Linked DNA regions of Homo sapiens: all the other regions are linked to region 4. The links are contacts of gene promoters, found by promoter capture Hi-C in blood cells and fetal thymus (Javierre and others, 2016). All regions are on one chromosome and are shown on one strand. Each heading gives the region's core, a stretch centred on a gene start or on the middle of the fragment in contact. The rest is flanking DNA. Distances are from core to core; before and after follow the strand shown.

What was found. The method cuts DNA at HindIII sites, captures the fragments that hold promoters and counts their contacts. A CHiCAGO score of 5 or more calls a contact.
Region 1: a fragment that was not itself captured here is called in contact with the fragment with the promoter of NOD1 in region 4 in 2 of 17 cell types (total B cells and naive B cells); the score reaches 7.7 in total B cells.
Region 2: a fragment that was not itself captured here is called in contact with the fragment with the promoter of NOD1 in region 4 in 1 of 17 cell types (neutrophils); the score reaches 5.6 in neutrophils.
Region 3: a fragment that was not itself captured here is called in contact with the fragment with the promoter of NOD1 in region 4 in 3 of 17 cell types (naive B cells, total B cells and neutrophils); the score reaches 6.8 in naive B cells.
Region 5: a fragment that was not itself captured here is called in contact with the fragment with the promoter of NOD1 in region 4 in 1 of 17 cell types (total B cells); the score reaches 5.1 in total B cells.
Region 6: a fragment that was not itself captured here is called in contact with the fragment with the promoter of NOD1 in region 4 in 2 of 17 cell types (neutrophils and total B cells); the score reaches 10.4 in neutrophils.

What each region holds. Positions count from the first base shown.
Region 1 is chr7:29,884,668-29,888,449 of GRCh38, forward strand. It overlaps WIPF3 (WAS/WASL interacting protein family member 3), which reads left to right. Exons shown (of 9, transcript NM_001080529.3): 6 at 3,401-3,550. Among named protein-coding and RNA genes, the nearest start is that of WIPF3, 80 kb to the left of the region's middle. The HindIII fragment of the contact is 853 bases long and covers 825-1,677 here.
Region 2 is chr7:29,902,397-29,906,218 of GRCh38, forward strand. It overlaps WIPF3 (WAS/WASL interacting protein family member 3), which reads left to right. Exons shown (of 9, transcript NM_001080529.3): 8 at 1,890-1,966. Among named protein-coding and RNA genes, the nearest start is that of FKBP14-AS1, 84 kb to the right of the region's middle. The HindIII fragment of the contact is 1,865 bases long and covers 1,237-3,101 here.
Region 3 is chr7:29,926,221-29,930,596 of GRCh38, forward strand. SCRN1 (secernin 1) reads right to left here. Exons shown (of 8, transcript NM_014766.5): 7 at 232-412. Among named protein-coding and RNA genes, the nearest start is that of FKBP14-AS1, 60 kb to the right of the region's middle. RefSeq lists an enhancer at 3,119-3,618. The HindIII fragment of the contact is 3,538 bases long and covers 20-3,557 here.
Region 4 is chr7:30,476,194-30,480,542 of GRCh38, forward strand. NOD1 (nucleotide binding oligomerization domain containing 1) reads right to left here and starts at 2,591. Exons shown (of 14, transcript NM_006092.4): 1 at 2,413-2,591. RefSeq lists an enhancer at 2,087-2,831 and a silencer at 2,480-2,719. The HindIII fragment of the contact is 7,069 bases long and covers 1-3,036 here.
Region 5 is chr7:29,866,070-29,870,449 of GRCh38, forward strand. All of the region lies in intron 2 of WIPF3 (WAS/WASL interacting protein family member 3), which reads left to right. Among named protein-coding and RNA genes, the nearest start is that of WIPF3, 62 kb to the left of the region's middle. The HindIII fragment of the contact is 6,783 bases long and covers 1-4,380 here.
Region 6 is chr7:29,947,034-29,950,867 of GRCh38, forward strand. The region is part of intron 3 of SCRN1 (secernin 1); the gene reads right to left. Among named protein-coding and RNA genes, the nearest start is that of FKBP14-AS1, 40 kb to the right of the region's middle. The HindIII fragment of the contact is 5,029 bases long and covers 1-3,834 here.

The sequences.
Region 1 (3,782 bases), core at 1-2,500, 590 kb before region 4:
TGGAGGTATTCGTTTCAGAGATGGACACCAGGGGTGAGGGAGGCAGAGAGACTTGCCCAAAATCATGCTGCATGTAAGCAAGGGATCCCGGCCTTGATCCCCTGCCCTTACTAGCTCTGTGGCCCTGGGCGACCACTTGGCCTCTCTGTTCTCCCTTCTATTCATCTGTAAAATGGGGATAGATGGCAATAGTTGTTACCTCCTGGGTTTGTTGTTAAGGATTAAGTGAGTTCTTAGGTTTGAGGTGCTTGGAACAGGGCAACAGTGAGCTTGAGAGGGATTATTTATTCTTACTACCAACCTTCCAACTCCCAATCTCCTCCCTGAGGTGGAGGGGGCGTGAGTGTGGCTTGTTTCCAGAACCAGGCCTCCTTTTATATTTGCCCGCGTTTTCCTATCTGGATCCCAGCCAGAATCTTCGCCGGCCCTCAGTAAACTGGATTCCCACTCTGCCTTAGTTTTCGCAGGTTCTCCGGCTGACTCAAGAAAACTGAGGGCCTGTATTTTGAGCCAAATATTAAAAATAATTCCTTCACATATGCAGCACAGGTTATTTGAATTGAGCGTTCATGCCCCATGGCTGATTTCCTTGATCCCGCTAGTAGGAGGCTTCATTCAGTTTTAGTGCCCCTGTGAATGGAAAGTACCTCCACACGTCCACAGATACACCCACATCCACACAGGCAGACACACTCAAACATATGCACACTCATAACACACACATCCACATGCACACCCCCAACACACATATTCCTTTGTCTTTTAGAAAATCTTTTGATGCAGAAAGCTTCTTAAAAGTATTTTCTTGACTTAAAAATAACGCAAGCTTGTTGCAGAGCTAATAGACGGAAATTCAAACTGGCCAGGTACGGATGGCTCACACCGGTAATCCCACTGCTTTGGGAGGCCCATGCATGAAGATGGCTTGAGGTCAGGAGTTCTAGGCCAGCCTGGGTAACACAGCGAAACCCCATCTCTACAGAAAATAAAAATAAAAAATTGGCTGGGCATGGTGGCAGACAACTATAGTCCCAGCTACTTGGGAGGCTAAGGCAGGAGGATCGTTTGAATCTAGGTGTTCAAGGCTGTGGGGAGCTATGATTGTGCCATTGTACTCCAGATTGGATGACAGAGCCAGATGCTGCTGTCTCTGAGTAAATTAAGTAATTCAATCACCCATAATAACATCACCCAGAGATGAAAACTGCCATTTGGATAGGTTTCTTCAATTCTTTTTTCTGAATATATGTACACGTTTACATGGTTAATACCATTTTTCACATACAGTTTTGTGTTCTGTGTTTTATTTAACATTATGTTAAAAACAATTTTATCAAATTGTTAAAATGTCTTTATAAGCATGACAATATATTCCATATTCCTCATGTTAGATATCTAAGTTGATTCCATTTTTTGTTATTATGAGTAATATTTTAAGAAATACTTTTGTAGAAATTTTAATCCACGTTTTTGATATTTTTCTAAAAGTATTGGTGTCTTAAAGGGAATTCCTGGTGCAAAGAGCAAAGATATTTTTAAGCCTCTTGATTACAAGAGGTAAGGTTTTAATCATTCTCTTTTCAATTGACTGGTCACCATGAGGGCCAGCATTTGGGCTGATAAGCCCCTTCTGATATTTGTTATTTTCATCTATTTATGATGTGATGAAAAAGACAAAGCTTTTTTTTTTTTTTTTTTTTTTTTTTTGAGACACAGTTTCACTCTGCCATCTAGGCTGGAGTGCAGTGGCAGGATCTCAGCTCACTGCAACCTTCGCCTCCCAGGTTCAAGTGATTCTTGTGCCTCAACCTTCCGAGTAGCTGAGGTTACAGGCGTGCACCACCACACCTGGCTAATTTTTGTATTTTTAGTAGAGACAGGGTTTCCCCATGTTGGCCAGGCTGGTCTCGAACTCCTGACTTCAAGTGATCAGCCCACCTCAGCCTCCTAAGGTGCTGGTATTACAAGTGTGAGCCACTATGCCCGGCCAACAAAAACAAGGCTTTTGATTCAGAGGGCTATGAGTTCAGATCCTGGGTTCCTCACCCACTCCTGTGGAAACTCACACCACTTGGGTTTGTTTTTTATTAATACTGAATTTTTTTTATTTGACAAATGGGCCTACTAATAACACCTTTCACATAGGATTATTAGGAATATGAAATGAGAAATCTGCATAAAGGGCTTGCATGTAACTTCAGCTCCAGCAGCATTATTTCCTTACCACACAGTGGGGCAGCTGTTCACCCAGAAGAGGGGCTGCAGTCCTTTTACTGCATGTGGGAGCAAGTAAATTCCTCATAGATCCTTGTGCCCAGAAAGGGAAGACCAGAAAGGGAGAGGAAGGCAGTTGGGAGGAAGAAAAGAAGATGAGCAGATGCTGAAGGGACATGAGACACGAGGATGGCGGCTGATGACTGAGAATGCCTGCTGCAGCTGGGGCCCCTTCATCTGCTCCAGAGTAGTGAGCCCAAGGCCAGGATGGGGATTCATATCTGCCCTTCTTGTTTGCATCTTTGGATTTGAAACTTGGTTTGTCCATGTTCAAAATAAGGGCAATTTCTACTTTAGCCCAACATGGGGGGAAAAGAGAGAGGTAGTAGTTGTGAACATCTTAGCACAGATAGTAATAATGTAATTGTCATCATTTCAAGAAGCAAAGTGATGTTTGCAGTGCCACTGAAGAAATAAGCAGCAGTGGAACCCCTGCACTGATGTGCCAGGATAGCAGATTTTGGGTTGCCAGATGAACCATACAGGAAAGTATTGGCAAAGGAGATAGTGAGCCTCTCAGGCATGATCAGAGAAGGCTGGAGGAAGTAGGTTGGATTCAAGTTAGGCCCTGGAGGGCACGTAAGATTTAGGTGGACCGGAAAGAGAAACAAGCATTTGCAGTGCTGGAGAACCAGTGTGAGCAGGGACACAGGGGCAGAACAAGCCCCTGGCCGCTCCCTCTTCAAGCCTCCCTCTGGGCCTCTTCTACAGACAGCCCTTCCTGTTCTTACCACTCTCTAGTGATTCCCCTGCTTTGGGCTGTACCTGATGATGAAGGTTATCACCATCATTAATATTATTGCAGCAGCTAACATTTATTGAGGACTTACTACATGCCACTCAACTTAAATTCAACTCATTGAATCTTCTCAGTAACCCTGGGAAGTGGGTGTACTATTACTACTCCCATCTTACAGATGAGGAAACTAAAACACAAAGAGGCTATGCTACTTATCCCAACAGGAGAACTGCAATTCAGTGCCAAGCAGGTTGACTCCAGAGGTTGCCCTTTTACTCGCTGTATCATATTACATCTGAAGATAGAAATGCCTAATATCTCACATAAGGTTATAGCATCCACCATTCCCATCCGTGTTTCTGAGTACACCATCATCTTCTCTGTAAGGGGCCGGTGGGGGAAAGCTAAATCCACCTCCAGCACCCCCTGCGAGATCACCTACCACAGAGCTTTCAAGCAAGAGCCAGCAGGCCACAGCCTGGACCCCGACGCAGCAGCCTGGAGGTCAACTGCGAAATGGAAGCCTGCACATCATTGGTAAGTGGGTTGCACCCTCTGCCGGTTTGGCTGCCAGTAGGAAAGTGATTCTCCCAACCTCTGGAGAGAGAGTTTGCTGGCCACAGTGCTGCCATCTCAGGGTGCATGCTTCTTTCATGAACAGGGGCTCACTCCAGCACCAACCAGCCCATAGGTTCTGTTAAATAGGGTTCCTTTCAAGGCTTTCTGCATAGTTTCAAGGCCCACTGTCTAGCCTTCTAATTCAGATTAG
Region 2 (3,822 bases), core at 919-3,418, 570 kb before region 4:
GAAAATTACAGTGTCCATTTGATTAATGTGTTATAAGTTTTAGAGACCCTTCTACGTGATAGTCCAATTTAAAAAATTGTACCTTACCTTAAAAGGTTTTTATAATGACTTATATATGTTGTAGAAAAGTTGAAAAAATATTTCTGAAGGGAGTTTTTTGGCCAGGCATGGTGGCTCATGCCTATAATCCCAGCACTTTGGGAGGCCAAGGTGGGAGGATCACTTGAGCCCAGGAGTTCGAGATAAGCCTGGCCAACATGGCAAAACCTTGTCTCTACTAAAAATATCAAAAAAATTAGCCAGGCATGGTGGCAAGCACCTGTAGTCCTAGCTACTCAGGAGGCTGAGGAATCAGAATTGCTTGAACCTGGGAGGCGGAGGTTGCAGTGAGTTGAGATAGCACCACTGCACTCCAGCCTGTGGCAAGACTCTGTCTCAAAACAAACAAACAAAAAAGAGCGTGTTTTTTTTTTTTAATGGTGATTCTACCACTTAGAAGGAAACATTTCAGAATATTATTATGTATTTCTCAATGAATTTTTAAAATAGTTGAGATCATTCTATTTATACAAATTCATTTCTCCAAAATGAGTCTTTGTAAATATTCAGTTTCCTGCAGGGTGCAGTAGCTCATGCCTGTAATCCCAGAATTTTGGGAGGCAAAGGCGGGAGGATCACTCGAGTCTGGGAGTTTAAGACCAGCCTGGGAAACATAGTGAGACCCTGTCTCTACAAAAAATTTTAAAAGTTAGCTGAATGTGGTGATGCACACCTGTGATCCCAGCTACTCAGGAGGCTGAGGTGGAAGGATCACTTGAGTCCAGAAGGTTGAGGCTGCAGTGAGTCATGATCATATCACTGCATTCCAGCCTGGGAGACAGAGGGAGACCTTGTCTAAAAAATAAAATAAAATGAAAAATAAAATAATAAAAAAACAGGTGCTTAGTACTCCATCATGTAATACTGAACCCTACGTTACCTAAAAACCTATGTTGAACACAGGTCATTAATTGTTCACTATTATAAATAGTCTATAATGAACATTCATGCTTTTCTGTTGCTTTTTAAATAGCACAGCAATCTGGATTGTTCTGGAGACTTTGGGACATGATTATTTAATGCCTAGTTCATGACAGAAACAGAATAGATAGGTGTCCTACCAGTGCAACAGAGGAAACACCATTTGGAATAACCAGTTGAAGGGAGAGTTCTGGAACACCTGGGAATGGGGATTTAAGCTTGGGTAGACCAACCAAAACATGTATCTGTATATATACAGATGTATGTATGGAAATACCAAAAAGAAAAAAAAAAATTGAAGAGATAAACATCAAACTTTTAGCCATGGTGACTCTGGGATAGAAAATTGGGATTGGGGGAGGAACAAGAAGAGAAGAGGAACTTTGAGGTTTTTTTCCATTATCTCCTTTATTTTTTGAATTCTTAACTATAAGAAGATATTCATATGTAACTTGTGTAATACTTAAGCACAGCACACTTGAGAGAATGATTTGGTTCCTCATGGATGGGAGGCCTGATTTGTCAGCAGTTACTCATCTTTTACTTTTTTAGCCAGCCCTGGTATTGCTGGGCACATTGTGGATAATGGATGAGCATCCCTGGAGATGGTATATTTGGGTAAAGAAGTTCTAACGTGCATTTATTTGATGGGCCTTAATAATTTGTTCTCTTCTCAGAGTATTAGACATGACTCTTCTGCATCCATGGTCTTTGACATAGAAGATGGGAGTGGTGGAAACAGACAGTCTAGGGCCAGGATCCTGAAGGTTTCATTGTTTTAAGTGCTGATTTAGAGAAAGTTTCTCTGTGAAACATGCACACCCGGTCCCTGGGCCAATAGATAATGAGATTGTTCTTTTTTCCTTCAGGCCGTACACCTGGTCCCTGGCTCCAAGCGGAAGCAGTCGGGCAGAGCTCTGATGACATCAAAGGCAGAAATTCTCAGGTAACACAAGCCTCATGTCTCTGAATGTAAAACCAGGAATTCTCCTCAGGAGGCACAGAAATGGTAAGGGTATGCTTTCTCCTAAACAGCTTTATATTTTTCCTCACACTCCTTTTCCTCAGGGAAAGCCATTTGGTGGACCTTTTTTCAAGCCAGAATGAAACACTCACCATTTCAAAATCTGAAGTGTGACAAAAGGGGGCTTCCCTGGAATCACCACTACATATAGAAGCAAGTTTAGCAACTCTGACATTCTGCAACAATCATGCCAATCACTTCCCATTCTTCCTTGGTTATGATGGCCTGTGAGAAAAACTGAATAACATGTATAAAACATAATTCAGTATTCTCTCTCATCTGTAGAATACATGGTTTCTTTTAGCACACTTGGAGTTTTTTTTTCCCCCACCAATGTTATAATTGATTTTGGCCAAATTTAGTCACAATTCAAGTACTAGTACCCACAAGAAATGAACAGAACTAGAAGGCAAGCCAGACAGCTGCTTTTGTGATAAGACAGTCCTTGAAGAAACACCTTTAATCTCACCCAGGGCATCTTGAACCGAATTATTTCCTAACCTGGACACATTTCCCTGCACATGACAGGGTCTCATCTTTAAAAGCCCTTTGTTTCTTTGAAAACATGTATTCAGTCGAACAATAATCTCCCCATTTCTGAATACTATGTGACAGACTACAGAGTCACTTGCAGTTAAACCAGGCAATTCTGCAACTGTGTGGAACATCAAGGAAAGTGACCTGAGAAGGAAGAGGCTAGGTTCCTGGAAGCTAGGATGAGTTCCTCAGAGGAAAAAGTACATCCTCTAGCAGATAAGTATCCCCCTTTTCTAACCACAGCTGATGCAAGAATTGCAGTAACGATTCTTAGACGATCACAGGTTCAAAACTGTGTGTATGATTGTAGTTAAGGAAGAAGTATATATACACAGGAAAAAAGACAGGAAGAATATACACAATATTGTTAACAGGTAGAGAGAATTCTGAGAAGATGGCAGAGGAGAAAGCACCAGGAATCTGTGGACAACAATTGCATTGGCAGAATCTGTCTGATGTAATTTGTCTCATGTATTTTGGAACTCTGGGATTCATTAAAGGCTTGAAACTTCCATGGGAAAGCTTGGACAGTAAATTGTGCTCTTAGTACAATAGTAACTACTCATCCTCCACCCCCCACCCCATGGCAGGCAACTGGGCACGTGTTCCTGGAGCAGCTTGCATACAGCTTGCAGGAGCCAAGGTGGGCACAAAAAAAAAACCCTGTCCTCCAGATACTGGGGAATCTGTTCTCTGATTGGTTATTGCTGCTTCTGATCACAGAGGTACAAATAAAGAGATGGGCAGCCATTGTTGCACCTCCTCTTATTGTTGTAAATCCCTTTCCCTCTGGCTGAAGTGGCCTCCTGGGGATTTCAAGGGCTGGTGGCCATTTTGTTCCTCCTGTCCTTGCTCTTTTTTTTTCCCCATTTGGGAGCCAAACATTAAAGATGAACATTCAAAGGCTACTACATATATGATGAAAATTAGAAAGTGACCACATATGCCCAGGGAAAGGCACAGGCTCAGAAAAGACCAAGAAGACCTTAAGATTACACCTCAGACTGATTCTTAGCACAGAGACAGCCTACAACAATCAAAAAAATAAAATGAACAAAAACAATAAGAAAAACCAGCAAACCCTGGGGGACAGAGAGAATTGATATCTAGAGTTACCACATTATTAGATTAAAATGTAGAGTTTTCAACAACAACAAAAATCACATCATACAAAGAAACAGGAGAGTATGGCCCATTCAAAGGAAGAAAAAAAACAAATCAATAGAGACTGCTCTTAAAAA
Region 3 (4,376 bases), core at 539-3,038, 550 kb before region 4:
AAATAACATGAGAAGCAGAAGCTTTGTCTTATTTGGTTTCAAGAGCCTGGGCAGGAAAATGGACACCAGCCTTCTAGGAAAGGCCCCAGGAACCTGGTCTCTGGGAGAAGCCCGGTCACACTGGATGGGTGGGGGTAGGGTCTAGCTTGACATCTGCTTCCCTGCCTCCTTCCTCGCTGACCTCGCCCGCCCGCCTCCGCCTCCGCCTCTGTGGCCCTCATGCAAGCTCACCTGGTCACTTTCGATGATGGCACGTGCCCACTCGTGGGCTTTGTACAGCTCATGCCGGCGGTCTGGTTTCTCCTGGAACCGAGGCTCCTTTTTGGCAGGGTCGTCATCCCCAAAACAGGGAGACTGTGTTTTGGGGACAAGTTTTACGTCATCAACAAAGATGAAAGGCTTGAATATGGACCTGGAGAGGAAGGAGAGGCACTTCAGCCAGGCAGAGGCTGGGACCCGGGAACACCCAGAGACTGTCCTTTTATTCAGCAAACATTTCCCAAGCCAACTTATGGTGGGTGGTGGGTGTGGGTGACGGGTGGGTGGGTGAGTGCCAAGAGAGACATAACTGCATGTTTTAGTCGCTATTTTAGCAAAACTGCAGCCATTTACAAGCTGCAAATTCCTCTACTTACAGCAAAGAGACATCAAAACAGACTTCCTTTGTTCTGAACCATTTGAGAGGACTCTTTTAGCAATAAAAAGTGAGGCAAACAAACAGTGTTCTGAGAAACGGTGCAAGGAGCCATCTAGCTGAGCGAGAGAGGTTTGCCTTTTTTTTTTTTAATACCGTGGTCTGAGAAGCAGCCTTTGGGAAAGGAAGGGCCTTTTGGTTTGGGTTTGTTTTTAGTTTTTTTCTGAGGTTCTACCTTACTGAAAAATCTATGGAATATCTCTGACAGACCCAAGGAGGGGACAGAGTAAGAAAGATGACAGAAGAGGCCTTGGAGGGTGCACACCACACAGAAGTCTGGTTGTGTGAGAGAGCTAGCACAGGGCACAGCAGGTAGCTAATGCCCCCCAGCTCTCTTCAATTCAGTTCTCTCGGCAGGATGGATGTTATCTTCGGGAAAATGGCTGTGCGTATGCCTGCATGTGTGTGTACTTGTACAAGTCTAGGATACATCACCCCCCCACCCACCCACCCACACACACACACACACACAAGAGCCACGCATATAAACAGCTGTGGCCTGGGATCCCAGGCCAACGGGCTAAGGGACCACTATGGCCAACTGTAACGCCGGGGAGAGAGCCTTATCCTACCCTCCCCACATCCAGAGGAAACACTGCTGGATCAGAGGGCTGCTCCTGGCAGGCATGGGCACCTCTGCGTCCCAAGGATTGCCTGTTTTCAGCTGTACCATGGGGCAGCACCTGCAATAACAGCAGGAGAGAAGGAACTCCCCATATGTGCCCCATATGTATAGGTCAGATTTGTCAGATTTGGACATTTTTTTCTCCTCTCAACAGGTGCACTGTGGCCCACCTCGGGTACCTCAAGTGGGCTAGAGGTGAGCTAGGATGTTGATTCCCTCAGCCCTGGGGCATCTGGAGCTTGAGGAAGCCAGGGCAGCCTTGCCAGTATGGCACACAGGTATGAATATTTTCAGGTATGGGCAAGGTATGGTGGCTCACACCTGTAATCCCAGCATTTTGGGAGGCTGGGGCAGGTGGATCACTTGAGGTCAGGAGTTCGAGCCCAGCCTGGCCAACATGGTAAAACCCCGTTTCTACTAAAAATAAAAAAAAATTAGCCGGATGTGGTGGAGTGCTCCTGTAATCCCAGCTACTCAGGAGGTTGAGGTGGAAGAGTCGCTGGAACCCAGGAGGCAGAGGTTGCAGTGAGCCAAGATCATGCCATCGCACTCCGGCCTGGGTGACTGAGCGAGACTTTGTCTCAAAAACAAACAAACAGACAAAGAAAAACTATTTTCAGGTATGCCATGACCTGAAAAGGACTGGGAGCCAATAACCCTTGCCAGCCAATTTTGTCCTCGGACTTGCAGCAACAGTATCGGCTGCAGAACCTCAGGCCCCACCCTGTCCTGCTGAATCAGAATCTGCAATTTTAACAAGATCCCTGCGGATTCATAACATATCCCAGTCTGAAGAGCACTACTAAAGACACAACAGTAATGAGAAGTACTCTCTTAGGTTAGCTTCCTGATGTTGCCATGGGACAGGAGTCTCAAGTGAGAAAAGAAAGACACTGATCACAATATGCAAAATTGGGGCCCAGACTAATTTAATTTGAGTATTAAAAGCAGTGAGACCTTCGTACCCCAAGCTGGTGAACTGAGTGGTACTAGTTGAGGACTAGTGTCAGGTACTCTGCTGTTCTCTATAGATGACGCAAATATAATTGGAGACTGGGCCCATCTCCGATCCACTGGGAAGCATAAGGCATGCCAGGCTGCGCCCACCTGCTCAAAGTCAAGCCCTGCCAAGAACCTACCCTCCCTAGCCATCATCAAAAGAAGACCCCCTAAAGACATAGGGGAGCTACCCTTGCACAGAAGGAACACACACTTCCACTTCCTACAGCCCCTTGAAAATAGATGATTGCTATACCCCTCTACTGAGTGTTGAATGAATGGCTGTTGAATATGAAAAAGGAATTATTGCAAAACCTAAAACTGTTTAAACCAATTTTTACTATATGAAATTGAATTCTTTAACTGGTGAGTCAGTTGATTCTGCAAAAGGGCTGCAGATGGAGGGCTCGCTGCAATGGAGCAGTGGGGAGGAGGAGGGCCAGGAGAGAGCACGCCTAGCCATCCACAACCAGCTGTCTCCAGGCTACCTCTGGGCTCTGACAGCAGGACTGTCTCACTACAGACAGGCGTCCTACCCTTGAGGGCCAGACAGCACTCGGGGTTTCCTGGGAAGTCAGCGCATGTCACCTCAGCAGCATCAGCCTCTTTCACTGGCACAGAAACCCTTCAGTGGTAGACAGGCCCGGGGCTCCCACCCAGCAGCCCAGAGTCAGCTCGGTTCACATCTTCTCAGCTCCAGGGCTCTGCGCTGGGCAGAACTGGGCAAAGCCAAGACTCCCACCTGGGCTGGTAGGCTTCACGGTGGAACTGGTGCAGGCTCAACACCTGGCAGGCAAGGGAACTGCGACCACGCCCTCCTGCGGAGCCTACTGAGCAGGCCCCATGCAATGCTACTTCATTCAATCCCCATGCCACTCCAAAGCCCACTCCAAACCCAAGTGGGAGCAGTATCTTCATCAGGAAACCTGCCATTTCACTCCTAAAACCTCAGTGCTTCCCTTACTGCGCATCTCAGGACTCTTCTGACACAGGACCCCTTGGGAGAGCCATGCCAAGAAGTGAGGGAAGGGGACAGCCTGGCAGCACCGCTGGGCGGAGCTACCTCCCACAGAGCAGGGCAGGGAACTGGGCTGGGACTTGGAACGGGGGTGTGAGTCCCCGCTTTGCGTCTGACCCACTGTGGGTCCATGTTTTCCCTCTCTGGCTCTCATCTGACTACAGTGATCTCAACAGTCCCTTCTAGCTTCTACAACTCGTTTATTTCTATTTCTGTCATGAAGCTTGTAAACTTGTGATGCCAGCTTCAGTAAGCTCATGCTAACCACAGTCAGGGTCTTCTGTATTCAATATAGGATAAATGCATAGTAAAAACTCAGAATGCTCTATGTGATGTAACTTTAAACCCACCCTAAGCTCACTGGAATGGAGAGGTTAATCAATGAGGGTGTCTGGTGCTTTTCTAAGAGAAGAGATACCATAAGTTTGTCCCTCTCATCTATCCATTTTAGTTTAAAAAGAATACATAATAAATATGAGGAGGTTCCCAAAATATTCTAAAGCAGCCAAAGCTCTCCAAATATTTTTTCAAAGCTTAGTATACTCAACTAATAAAAAATATAAAGCCTAAATGTATTGAGGTGGTTAAAAGCTTTTTTGAGATTGAATAAATTATATAACTAATAAATAAGGTTATCTAAAAAATAATAATTACATAAAATATTAACAAAAATTATTGCTGATAATAATTGCAATATTAATATTTGTTTAAACCAGGATGTGGAAATTATCTATAATTCAGGTTTCATCATTTGTGTCTATGTACCCAGAAAAGGGGAATGGGGGTAACTCAGTGGTTCCCAAACATTTTGATTTCTTATCAATCTTTACAGAAAATCACATTTAGAATTCCAAATAGATAAGGAGATACTCTGACATTTTCCCACAGGTAAGCCACAGACGGTAGCTTCTTAAATGCTACTTGAATGAACATAAGCCCATTAACAGACACACCCAACTGTCTCCACCACCTACAATTAGCAGATACACCCAACCGTGTCCAGCCCACCTGACCAGGATGAGGCCCATTTCATCACATGC
Region 4 (4,349 bases), core at 1,341-3,840:
TGAATCCTTTTCTTTGAATAAGAGATAAGACTTTGATAGTCTTGTGTAAGCAAATATCAGTGATCACACATACACTAGAAAAACACTTGATCTTTATGCCTATATTACTTACTGTTTCTATTTCTGATGTCTAATCTAAACAGCACTGCTGTTAGGATCAAAGTGACCATCCATGATGCACAGAGCACGTACCAGGGTAAAGTTCCAGCTGGGACGCAGGCATCAGCAATTGTAGAATTTGGGTTCTCCCTTCCTCAGATCCCTGACTGTCCTTGGTCATTCAAGAAAGATTCACTGTCCCTAGGCCAAGAGTCAGGAGCAAAACAGGAACACCAAGGGTATGGTCTGAGGATGTTGTCAGCAGGGAGCAACGTGCGTGTGTGTGCACATACACTAATTCTGAGACACTGTGCACAGCCCAGCTTTCTTGGAAAGCCATTTAAAAGATATATATGTGGCAACAGAGAGGAGGAAGTCTCAAGATTAAGAACAGCTTTTGAGTGTGTGTGTGTCAAAATATTCATTCCTATCACATGCAGTAAAACTGTATTCCAGAGCCATTAATACGCCCTGGGGGACTGAGGGGATTTGCAGCCTAAGATTTCAGACTTAAAGCCCGCTAAGGCCCTGAGCGGGGCAGCAGGGCAGGAGAAGGAATGGAGCGTTGAAGGGAACATTTTATAGACATTCTCCCTCATAGTGGCTGTACTAAGTAAACAATTAACGGGCACAAACTGCCACTCCAGTGTCTAATAACTACCTCTGCCAGAGCACCTGCCAGCGCCACCACCTTCCAGGTGTGTGATGCACATCATCTCGCTGAACTATGCTAGCCTCAGGAGAGGGTTGCTCTTTATTTTACAGGTGGGAAAACAGGGGCTTGGAGAGGTCAAGGAACTTGCCCAAAGTCACAGCATAGAAGTGACAGAATCCGAGTTTTGACCCAGATTTGATGGGTTCCAAAGCGTGAACTTATTTCTCCACTCCACAAAAATAAAACCTACTCTTCTTACAATATTTGAAAGAGCCCTCTTCTACCACTCTGCTGTTTGTTTTAAACACAGCTTGCTTATCTGTCTGGCATATTCGGTAGAAGTCTGTACTTTGTCAATGCCTGGTTTGCCTGGATTTCAGCTACCTGGCCCCTGGCATCTAAGCCTGGGTGAGAACAGGGAATCCACTCCTCTCTAAGATGCATCGTGGAGTTACTCTTTTACTCTTCCCTGAAAGTGATAGTTCAATCTTCAACAGGGGCTTTGAGGGAGAACAAACTCGACCCTTTGGCAAGCACGACTTCTGGCTTCACCGTTTTTTTGTTTTTTGTTTGTTTGTTTGTTTTTGACGGAGTTTTGCTCTTGTTGCCCAGGCTGGAGCGCAACAGGGCGATCTCGGCTCACTGCAACCTCTGCCTCCCGGGTTCAAGCAATTCTCCTGCTTCAGCCTCCCGAGTAGCTGGGATTACAGGCATGCGCCACCACGCCCGGTTAATTTTTTTTTTTTTTTTTTTTAGTAGAGACGGTTTCACCATGTTGGGCCAGGCTGGTCTCGAACTCTCGACCTCAGGTGATCCGCCTGCCTTGGCCTCCCAAAGTGCTGGGATTACAGGCGTGAGCCACCGCGCCCGGCCCTGGCTTCACCCTTAAAGCAGAAAGGCCAGAAGTCATCAAGGCCATGGGTTTACTAGCTTAGCTTCCCCAGACTTAATTTCAAACACCAACAACCGAAATGTTTCCTAGAATGCAGAGCTAATGAGACATCAACCTCTGTCATTTCCTATGTTTTTCACAATGTGCCAAAACAACTGCACACATTGGAGGCGTTTTTGAATGTGATATTCAGGCGACCTTGCCAAGCATTGTCTCATTTCCTTACTTTGTGGAGCATGAAACCCAAGGGAAGTTCTCACCCTCTCTCCAGGACCAAGCAGGACACTGGGAGCTGCTGTCCCGTCTGCAGGCGGGACTCCATGAAGGCCCCTGTCTGCCCTTCCAGCCTTTGCCACAAACCCTCGAACGCTGGCTGCACACTGGAATCACTTGGGGAGCTTTTAAAAGATACGGAGGCCTGGGTCTGACTCCGTGAGATTCTGATGGAATTGATCTAGGGTGCAGCCTGGATATCTGGATTTTAAAAGCTCCCCAGGTGGTTCTAAGCTGCTGGCACGATTGAGAACCCCTGCGTTCGACCACAGTGGGATAAACGATTCCGCTGACTGTGAAGTTCATCCCTCTCAACTTTCGCTACATGCTTCAAACTCGCGGGTTTCTCCGCTTGGTTCCACCCAGAGCTCCTCCAGAGCCGCGCTGCGTTCCGCCCGCACGCAAATCCCGCCTCCCTGCGCCTCCTCACTCGCAGCGCCCAGGACCTCAGAAAGGGCCTGCCCCGCGCGAATCCCCAGTCGCTGGGACTTACTTGGCCACCAGGTTTACAGACTTCGCAGCCGCTGAGAGCTAGAGAAGAGCCCGGAGAGCGCCATGGTCCGGGGACGCCGGGGCCGGGAAGCGCCGTGGCCCGGGAGGACGCTGCTCCCGCAGTAGCGCGAGGGAGGGGCAGGACCGGGGCGGCTGCCTCGCGGGCCCGGAACGGGAACTGGCTGCGACTACAGCCGCAGCCGCGCCCCTCTGTTGGCGCGCCCAAGAGCCTGCCGGCTGCTGGGAGAGGCCGCCGAAGGGCGGGGGCGGTCAAGGCAGGGTCCCACGGTGCTGCCATTCGCCCGGGTCTGGCGCGGGGGGGCGAGAGAAGCTGCGCGCAGAGGGACGCCCGGTGCGAGAGGGTGAGCCCCTGGCCACCGCGCAGGGCCGAGTGGACAGGCCCAAGTTCGCCCAGAGGTGACACACTTGGGAATTTGTGGTGCCATCGTGCCAGGTCCCTCCTCGTAAAAGTGCCTACCCAGCGCCTGCAACCAGAGCCAAAGCCTGGACATGATAGGGAAACTCTTGTTAAAACGCGACACGTGGTCCTGATGAAATGGAGGTTAACGTAATCAAATTTAAATTACACTGCATACATTTCAATTTATACTTTTTAAAAAATGTAAGCTTTTCTTCCTATCCTTAAATTTGTTCTTGGCAGTGTACATTTTATGTTCTATGCATATGCTCTAATAGGTTGTAAAAGAGTTTTAACATGCTAATAAATGTCCCCAATAAAATAGTTTTAAAACGTTTTGAATGGGGATCGTGTCCATAAGGGATATCATGCTACAGAAAGTTGTCACTTACTCACACTGAAGAAGTACATTCAATCATATAGCCACTGATGCTTGTGAGTATTAAAATTCCCATCAGAGGCTGCCCTCTGAGAAACAGAAAGTATGTTCTTAAATCAAAAGTGAAAGTGCAAACTAAAGTTGATAGGATCAAATGTGCCAACTTGTGTCAGGCCTCTGAGCCCAAGCCTGCATGTATACATCCAGATGGCCTGAAGCAACTGAGGAATCACAAAGGTAGTGAAAATGGCTGGTTCCTGCCTTAACTGATGACATTACCTTGTGAAATTCCTTCTCCTGGCTCAGAAGCTCCCCCACTGAGCACTTTGTAGACCTTCCACCCCCCCGGCCCCCGCCTTGCCCACCAGAGAACAACCCCCTTTGACTGTAATTTTCCACTACCCACACAAATCCTATAAAGCTACCACACCCCTAACTCCCTTTGCTGACTCTTTTTTTCGTACTCGGCCCACCTGCACCCAGGTGAAATAAACAGCTTTATTGCTCACGCAAAGCCTTTTGGTGGTCTCTTCACACGGACACGTGTGACATTTGGTGCCGAAGACCCGGGACAGGAGGACTCCTTCAGGAGACCAGTCCCCTGTCCTCACCCTCACTCTGTGAGGAGATCCACCTATGACCTCGGGTCCTCAGACCAAACAGCCCAAGGAACATCTCACCAATTTCAAATCGGGTAAGCGGTCTTTTCACTGTCTTCTCCAGCCTCTCTCACTACCCTTAAATCTCCCTCTATTTCCAATTCCAGTTCTTTCTCCTCTCTAGTAGAGACAAAGGAGACATATTTTATCCATGGACCCAAAACTCCAGCTCCGGTCACGGACTCAGGAAAACAGTCGTCCCTTGGTGTTTAATCACTGCAGGGACACCTGCCTGATTATTCACGTACATTTCATTGGTGTCTGATCACCGTGGGGATGCCTGCCTTGGTCATTCACCCACATTCCCTTGGTGGCAAGTCAATTGTGGGTCGCCTGCTTTGGCTGCTCAGCCACATTGCAGCCCAGGGCTGCTCACCACCCCCCTTCTCCGGGTCTCTACCTTCTTTTCTCTGGGCTTGCCTCCTTCACTATGGGCAACCTTCCACCCTCCATTCCCCCTTCTTCTCCCTTAGCCTGTGTTC
Region 5 (4,380 bases), core at 1,010-3,509, 610 kb before region 4:
AATCGCTTGAACCTGCGAGGTGGAGGTTGCGGTAAACCAAAGTCGCGCCACTGCACTCCAGCCTGCGCGACAGAGCAAGACTCTGTCTCAAAAAAAAAGGAAGTCTAGATTCACTTACATTATCATGTATAACAGACAATACTGTGGAAACATCTTGAACTTTCTAGAAATTTTGGAATTTTCCCTTGCTTAGTTATTTTCATTACCTTTGTCTCCTTTCATATGTGAGCAATGTTCATAACCACTATTATTTTAGAGCCAACAAAGGGAGGCCAAATGCCAAAGACCCTGCATTTTGCCCTGCAGCCAATAGGGAGACAAGCAAGGAGAGAAGAGGCCCAACACTCACAAGAGAGAGGTGGACCAGCAGGGCTGCTCCATAAGAGGTTCTCTGTTACCTGACAAGGGAGTTTCAGGTACAGCTTATTTACAGTTGAGGGTATCAGCCACACAGCATAGGGTTACTCTGTGCACTTTCCATTTTAAGTGCTTTCAGTCCCCCTGCCAAGGTGGCTGCTGGCATTTAATGCACTCATCAGGCTCTTCTCAGAGCCTGTCATTCAGCCTTGGCTGTCCTTTCTGGCTCTGGCAAAAGCCTAGCACTTAGCTCCTTTGGCCCCAGCCTTCTTCGGCGCTCCACTCACTGTCTGTTTCTACCCACCCTCCCTTTTCCTTCTCTGATGCCCCTTTCCTGCCCACTCCTTCCTGCTCTGGCTCTCACACTGCTTGTGAGGCAACATCTAGCCTGGCCTCAAGCCAGAGAGCAGTGGGACCTCTCCGCTCTCCCAGCTTCAGGCCTGTCTTGTATTTCCTGGGTATAAGAGGCTGTGTTGTGATGAAGAAAGCCAAACTTGCCTGTACTCACTGCTCAGCTCTGTACTTGGTAGCAGTGGATGGTCTGCTTCACCCTTGTGCCTCATCTGTAGACTGGACATAATACTCATAACTAGCACCTACATTATAGAATTGTTCAGGGCCTTTGAAATGAATTAATACATGCAAAGCAGTTGGGACAGTGCCTGGCACATACAAATGCCTTCCCATTTCTTTTTATTATTGGTATTGTCATTGTCACCCATTGCATGTTGCAGCCGTCTTGTTAATTCCTTTACCCAAACGCCAAAGTCACCGCTGTGTGCACTCTAAGTAGAGAGAAGGAGCCGGGACTCTGTAAAAGACTGGTTATTTCAAATGAGAAAGAGAGCAAGGAGCCATAGGGACCTTTGAGGTTTCGAGCCTGGATGAATGGGGAGAAGCCCTTAACAGAGACTGAGGGCCAGCAGCACTGTGAGTTGGAAATAACAACGGTAATGTTATTTCATTAGTTTGCAAATTAATCTGCCAGGCGGGGGCATGTTTCTTTTTGATAGTACTTTTTGTCTAGAAGAAATAGAAGATATGAAACCTCACACTGTTCTAACTAGGTATTATTTATTAGTTATTCCTGGTGCCATGCCCTTGACTCCTGGCTCTGCCCCCGCCCCCTCCACACCCCAGCTTTTTTTTTTTTTTTTTTTTGAGTTCATGAGATTGTTCTTTCTAGGTCCAACTTAAGTTTGAAGATCAAATTTTCTCGTAATTTAAAATTTAGTCTTAAAAGCCTGAGAATATTGGCATCATTGTAAAGGAGAGAATGGTGCGGAATTGAATTCACATCTCTAGGGACACAGTGGCCAAAGGATAAAAAGGGTGAAGACATTAGGATGAATCAGGGCTGAAATGTGACCTCAAAAAACAGCCACTTCTCTTCCCACACCTGCGTGCTTTGTGGGAGCAGATAAATGTCAGGGGAGGCAGAGTCGAAGATCCAGGGACTAAGGTTTCTATAGAGTTCATGTCAACAAAATACTGATAGGTTGCTCACAGTTTTTTTAAGCTGGATTCACTGGTAAGAGAAAGTGGAGTGGCTTAGTTTTTGTGCTCAAAAATAAGAAGCAAGACCAATATGTAGAAGCTATAATACTGGGCAAGATATGAGCAGTGCTGTAGAGAATTAAAAACGATGTGCCTTGGCAGCGGAAAAGCAGATCACACAAGGAAAAGTTTAGTTGAGAAAGTGGAAAAAATACATTTTCTAAAGTAAACTGTATTTGGTGTCAAGAGCTTCACGGGGAGATGAAAGGTTTGGCAGATATGGCAGAGTGGGGTGTGGGGCATCCCCAGAAGAGGAGGTGGGCTGAGCACAGGCTTGGAAGTGGGAAAGAAGAGACAGGGGATAAACCCAGAGCAGCTGAAATGAGGCTCCAACTGGCCAAGGAAAGATATCTTGGGACAGTATGGCTGAATTCCTTGATTCGGTAGAGATTAGTGGGCCATTGAAGCATTTTGAGAAGAGGAGTTAATTAGCACTTTAAAAACGATCATTTGAAGGCTGTCTCAAAGAGAGATGAGAGTCCAATTTTGGAGACCAGCTAGGAGGCTCTGGGTCTAGAGTATAAATAATGAGAAGTATATATATATATATATACACACACATACACAAATATATTAAATATATGTACATATATGTGTGTATATACACACATATATACAGTGATGCATCGATTAACAAAGGGTATATGTTCTGAAGCGTCTACATTGTTAGGTGATTTTGTCATCATGTGAACATCCTAGAGTGCACTCACACAAACCTGGATGGTAGAGCCTACTGCACACCTAGGTTATGTGGTATGGCCTGTTGCTCTAGGCTACAAACCTGTATGGCATGTTACTGTACTCAGTGAATCCTGTAGGCAACTGTAACGCAGTGGTAAGTATTTGTGTATCTAACCATATCTAAACATAGGAAAGGTACAATAACAATATGGTATTATACTGTTATAGGACCACCGTCGTATGTGTGGTGCATTACTGACTGATACATCATTATGCAGAGAATGTGCACACACGCACACACATGTACATACACCCCCCAAGCACAACATCCTGGCAATCTTACCCATACTTCATCCCCACTCTTTTTTTTTTTTCATTTTTTGAGATGGAGTTTCACTCGTGTTGCCCAGACTAGAGTGCAATGGCGCAATTTTGGCTCACTGCAACCTCTGCCTCCCGGGTTCAAGAGATTCTCCTGCCTCAGCCTCCCAAGTAGCTGGGATTACAGGCATGTGCCACACACCTGGCTAATTTTGTATTTTTAGTAGAGACGGGGTTTCTCCATGTTGGTCAGGCTGGTCTCGAACTCCCAACCTCAGGTGATCCGCCCACCTTGGCCTCCCAAAGTGCTGGGATTACAGGCGTGAGCCACTGCGCCCCACCTGTATCCCCACTCTTAACACCATGCCTAGCACAGAGTTAGCACTCAAATCTTAAATAATATTGGGTTATATTACTATTCAAGGGGTTCGCTTTACTGATTTCTATTTACCATCTTTTCAAGCCCCTTCTTTCCAGAAGTTTCTGTGAACTACTTTTACCAGTTAAAGTAACCATCATGTGCATTTAAAGACATGCTTTTGTCTAGTGTCTGATCCACCATTTATATGTTTAATGTCCTTTTGAATTGCTAGTTATGGGGTAGTTGAGTCTCTAATCCCTGCCTCTGAAATCCATCTGTATCTGCCCAATTTACACATGTCCCAAATCTCTCTTTCTCCATATTTCTTTCTATTCTTCCCATCCCTAACATTTATTCTTATATTTTTCTGATTATTCCCTACTAAAGAGACTTAGAATTAATACTGGAATCGAAATTCTCATTGTTGCTAAAAATTAGTACTACAATATATTGCCAGATGTGCAGTTTGTAGTTAGGAAGGGATTGGCACACAGTAGAACTGCTTGATAACACTGGTTTGGGTAGGAAAAAGCTGGCATTTATACATAAACTCATGGTACCCCGTGGAAATCTGGGCAAGCTCAGCAGGCAATACTAATGAGGCCTCTGATTTTCTTCCACTGGGTGAGATGGAAAGTCATTGCAGATTTTGAGTGGAATAACATGATCTGGGTAGTAGATGCTCTGCTAAGGGTAAGCATGTTGCTCTAGGAACACAGATAGGGATCTTCATCTGGACTTCCAGGATCAAGAGGCCTCTTGGGAGACAGCCAAGAGGCAAGTGTAAAAAGAGCAGAGATCAGCTCAAGCCAAGGTCTTGAGGTGAGCACCAGCATGGAAGGCTCAAGGAGTGGAAAGTCTGGGCTGGTCACTAAGGGCCTTATGCATCGTGAGGGGATTTGAATCCTCAGGATTCAATTCAAATGGATGCAGCAAAGAATGACACAATTAATGATACATCTTTTATAAAGATTACTCTGTCTGTTGTGTGGGGGAGGGCAAGGAGACATGAAAACCACATAAGGGAATCCAGAGGTGATGAATGCCTGCTTAAGGCATCATGGCAGCGATGGAGAAGAGGTGACAGATTTCTGAGAAATCAG
Region 6 (3,834 bases), core at 348-2,847, 530 kb before region 4:
CCATGCCTAATTTCACTTTGGCTGCTACCCCTCTGCCTGGGCAGGACCAGGACAGGGAAGGGGAAGAAACTCAATGGGCCAAGGTTAGAGTTCCACTGTAACATCTATCTTCTGTGCAGTTCGAATTCTTCCAAAGTGTGTGCTTTGTCCAGCTTGCTCTGGGCCTGGGAATTAGATGCTCCTGAATTCAATTCCTAGTTTTATAGGAAAATCTTTCCCTGGGAGCCCATGACCTTCTCACAGGTATGTCAAGCTCACCCTGCCCGTTCCTGAAAAGTTAACACATCTCACTGAGAAAGATGGGTCACACCTGTACTTCTCCTGCTTAAAGCCCGTTTGTTTAGAAACTCTGCTTATCTTTTCAACATCTGTGCCTCCATGGATTAGGAGATCCCTGTCCTTTTCTATCTCAAATCAGGTAAAACTAGATTTGCCATGGATATATAATCACTGACTTGGGAAAAGTAATAAAAATAGGCAACACAGCCCCCTTAGAAAGGTGGGCCTAGTATTCTTATAGGACTCAGGTGCAAATAATCTTCCCTCCTCCCCACAATCAAGCAGTCTGCCAGGCCCTTCTGAGGTCAGGACCTTTTGGAAATTGGAAATTCCCTGCCTTCAGCCAGAGGGCTAGAAGCAGGAAGGTAATGCTATGAAGTGATTGCTTGTCCCCCTGGTTTCCCCAAAAATTCATATGTTAAGCCTCATCCCCAGTGTGATGGTATGGTACACGGGGCCTTTGGGAGGTGATGAGGTCATGAGGGGTGGAGGCACCATGATGGGATTAGTGCCCTTAAAAGAAGAGACACCAGAACACGTCCTCTTTCTCTGTTCTCTGCCATGTGAGGATACGGGGGAAGATGGCCGTCTGCAAACCAGCAAGCAGGCTCTCCCCAGACACTGGGTCTTCCGGTGCCTTGATCTCAGATTTCCCAGTCTCTAGGAATGTGAAAAATAAATTTGTGTAGTTTCAACCCCCTAGGCTATGGTATGTTTGTTATAGCAGCCCAAATGGACTAAGACGAGTGATAACACAGGTGATGGATGTGAAGGTGATCCAGGGAAAGAGCGTGTGAAACTTTTTGACTTATCTCCATCTCTCAGTGTCCCGAAATTCCTGCGTCATTGACAGGTGAAGTAAAATGTGCTCCACTACATAGAGGAGTGGCCTCTCTGAGGCTAGCAGGCCCTGGGATCCCTGGCTTAGCCACCTTCTAGCTCTGGGGCCTTGGGCAACTCCTTCAACCCTCCTAAGCTCCAGTGTCCTCACTCTCAAGGGGAGGAGACCTACTTCATTGGGTTACTGTGAGAGTTAAATGAAATAATATGTGCAAAGCATGTCTTACTACAGTGTTCAGGAAATAGTAACTCTGATTACACAGGTTCCTCCCGCCTACAAATGGTGACTGAACCTCCTTTTAAATCACCTGAGTCCTCACATTCACCAACAACCTAAAGACAAACTACAGACCTTTCCAAATTTTCACACTGGCCTTTTGCCAAGGACTTTTGTGATTTTTAACATGCTGAAGGTCTGATGGAATGTGTCCAGAATTATAAGATGTTCTGAAATATTGGAATTGACTAGGTTTTAGTGCCATTGTTAAACACAAATGGGACTAGCAAAAGTCAGCATGCAGGAAAAAAAAGAATAAAGTAGTTATGCAAAGGGAAGAAGAGGCAAGAAACACTGAAAGAATGCAGCAATCTGCTGGAGCCAGCTGCTACCAGCTTGGAGAGCAGATGGTTAAATTTTAGGGATTTTGAGCCAGTTCTGAAACTGTTGGTAGCTTGAAACCCCTCACAGTGGGAGTATTTACACCATGGAAATTGAAAAAGGACTCAAACAGCGCTGCCCCTTCCCTCCACCAGGCTGGTTATTAAACATTTACCAGCATACTTCTGACAAAGAGGTTCCAAACGCTTCATAGTTCTCATCCATGTTGAGGCCCAGAGGCATTATCATGTCTGACAGACCTTGGATTATAAGTGGCACCCTAGGACAGGAGCGGTGGCTCACACCTGTAATCCTAGCACTTTGGGAGGCTGAGGCAGGCGGATCACGAGGTCAGGAGATCATGACCATCCTGGCTAACATGGTGAAATCCTGTCTCTACTAAAAATACAAAAAATTAGCCGGGCATGGTGGCAGGCGCCTATAGTCCCAGCTACTCGGGAGGCTGAGGCAGGAGAATGGCGTGAACCCAGGAGGCGGAGGTTGCAGTGAGCCGAGATGGTGCCACTGCACTCCAGCCTGGGTGACAGAGCAAGACTCCGTCTAAAAAAAGAAAAAAAAAAAGGGCACCCTAACAACCAGAAAGTAATTTCCCCTTTCTTTCCTTCACTCTTTTTTTTTTTTTTTTGAGACAGGATCTCGTTCTGTGACCCAGGCTGGAGTGCAGTGGCATGATCTCAGCTCACTGCAACCTCCCCACCTGGGTTCAAGCAAACCTCCCACCTCAGCCTCCCAAGTAGCTGGGACCACAGGCGTGGGCCACTATACTGGGTTAATTTTGTATATTTTGTAGATACAGAGTTTTACCATGTTGCCCAGGCTGGTCTTTAACTCCTGGGCTCAAGCAATCCTCCTGCCTCGGCCTCCCAGAGTGCTAAGATTATGGGGCATAACCCACCACATCAGGCCCTTTTTTCCTTCTTTCAGACAGGGTCTCGATCTGTTACCCAGGCTGGAGTGCAGTAGTGCAATCATGGTTCACTGCAGCCCTGACCTCTTGGACTCAGCAATCTTCCCGCCTCAGTCTCTCAAGTAGTTGGGACCACAAGCATGCAACAGTGCAACCAGCTACAATTTGCATTTGTTTTGTAGAAACAGGCTTTTGCCATGTTGCCCAGGCTGGTCTTGAACTCCTGGGCTCAAGTGATCCTCATGACTCGCCTCCTAAAGTGGTGATAGCAGTGGTGGCCCATCTGGAGGAGCCACTGTGAAGATGCCGGCTGCAACAGGGAGGCAGGGTCTGGGTTGCGTGCTTTGCGAGGCTGGTGGGAGCCCCACCCCCTACCAAGTTGGCAGGGTGGGAGCCCCATGCTCCCAGGCACAGCTGCAGCTGCTCTGGACCTGGGCATCCCTGCACTCTCAGGAGCCCAGGAAGCCCTTGCCCCTACAGGCTTGGAAGTGCCTGCTTCCTGCTCCCTGACCTCTTCCCGCTTCCCAGCACCTGCTCCAGTGCAGAGCAAAGTTGTGGCTGAGCCCAGGTGCTATTGCAACCTGGCTGGGTGTGCACATGCTTAGGGTGGTGCTGACACACCAGCCCCCTGCCGCCTCGGGCTTCTCCAGACTTTGGGCATCAATGAGCACAGGAGGGAGGCTGGGAGGGCTGAGGGCAGCTCAGTGTGGGCCTGCCAGTGCCCCCCAAGATGAAAAACCTGGACATCATGGATGGCACGTTGATGGCAGGAGGCAGACAGTTTCCTGGGCGGAAAGGAGCAGGTCCCCAGTGAAACCCCACCTTCAAGCCAGGAATGGCCGGAAGCCCGGAGGCTGGTCTGCTAGTTCCGGGTGGAGTACGCAGCCCAGAGTGAGAACTTATGGTGCTTTTTCCAGGCTTGCCCATGACCCGATCAGCACACACTTCCTCCCTTCTGAGCCCATAAAAACCCCAGACTCAGTCAGACTCACACAGACGTTAGGACTACCAGCTGCAGGAAGGAGCTACCAAGTTTGGGCCTCCTTGACTCGTTGGGATGACCTGCCTGCAGCAGAAGGGAGCTACCCACTACAGGTCTCCTCTCTGCTGAGAGCTGGATACTCGTCAGGATGACCTGCCTGCAGAATGGAGCTACCCACTTTGGGTCCCCTGAGAGCTGTTCTGTCAC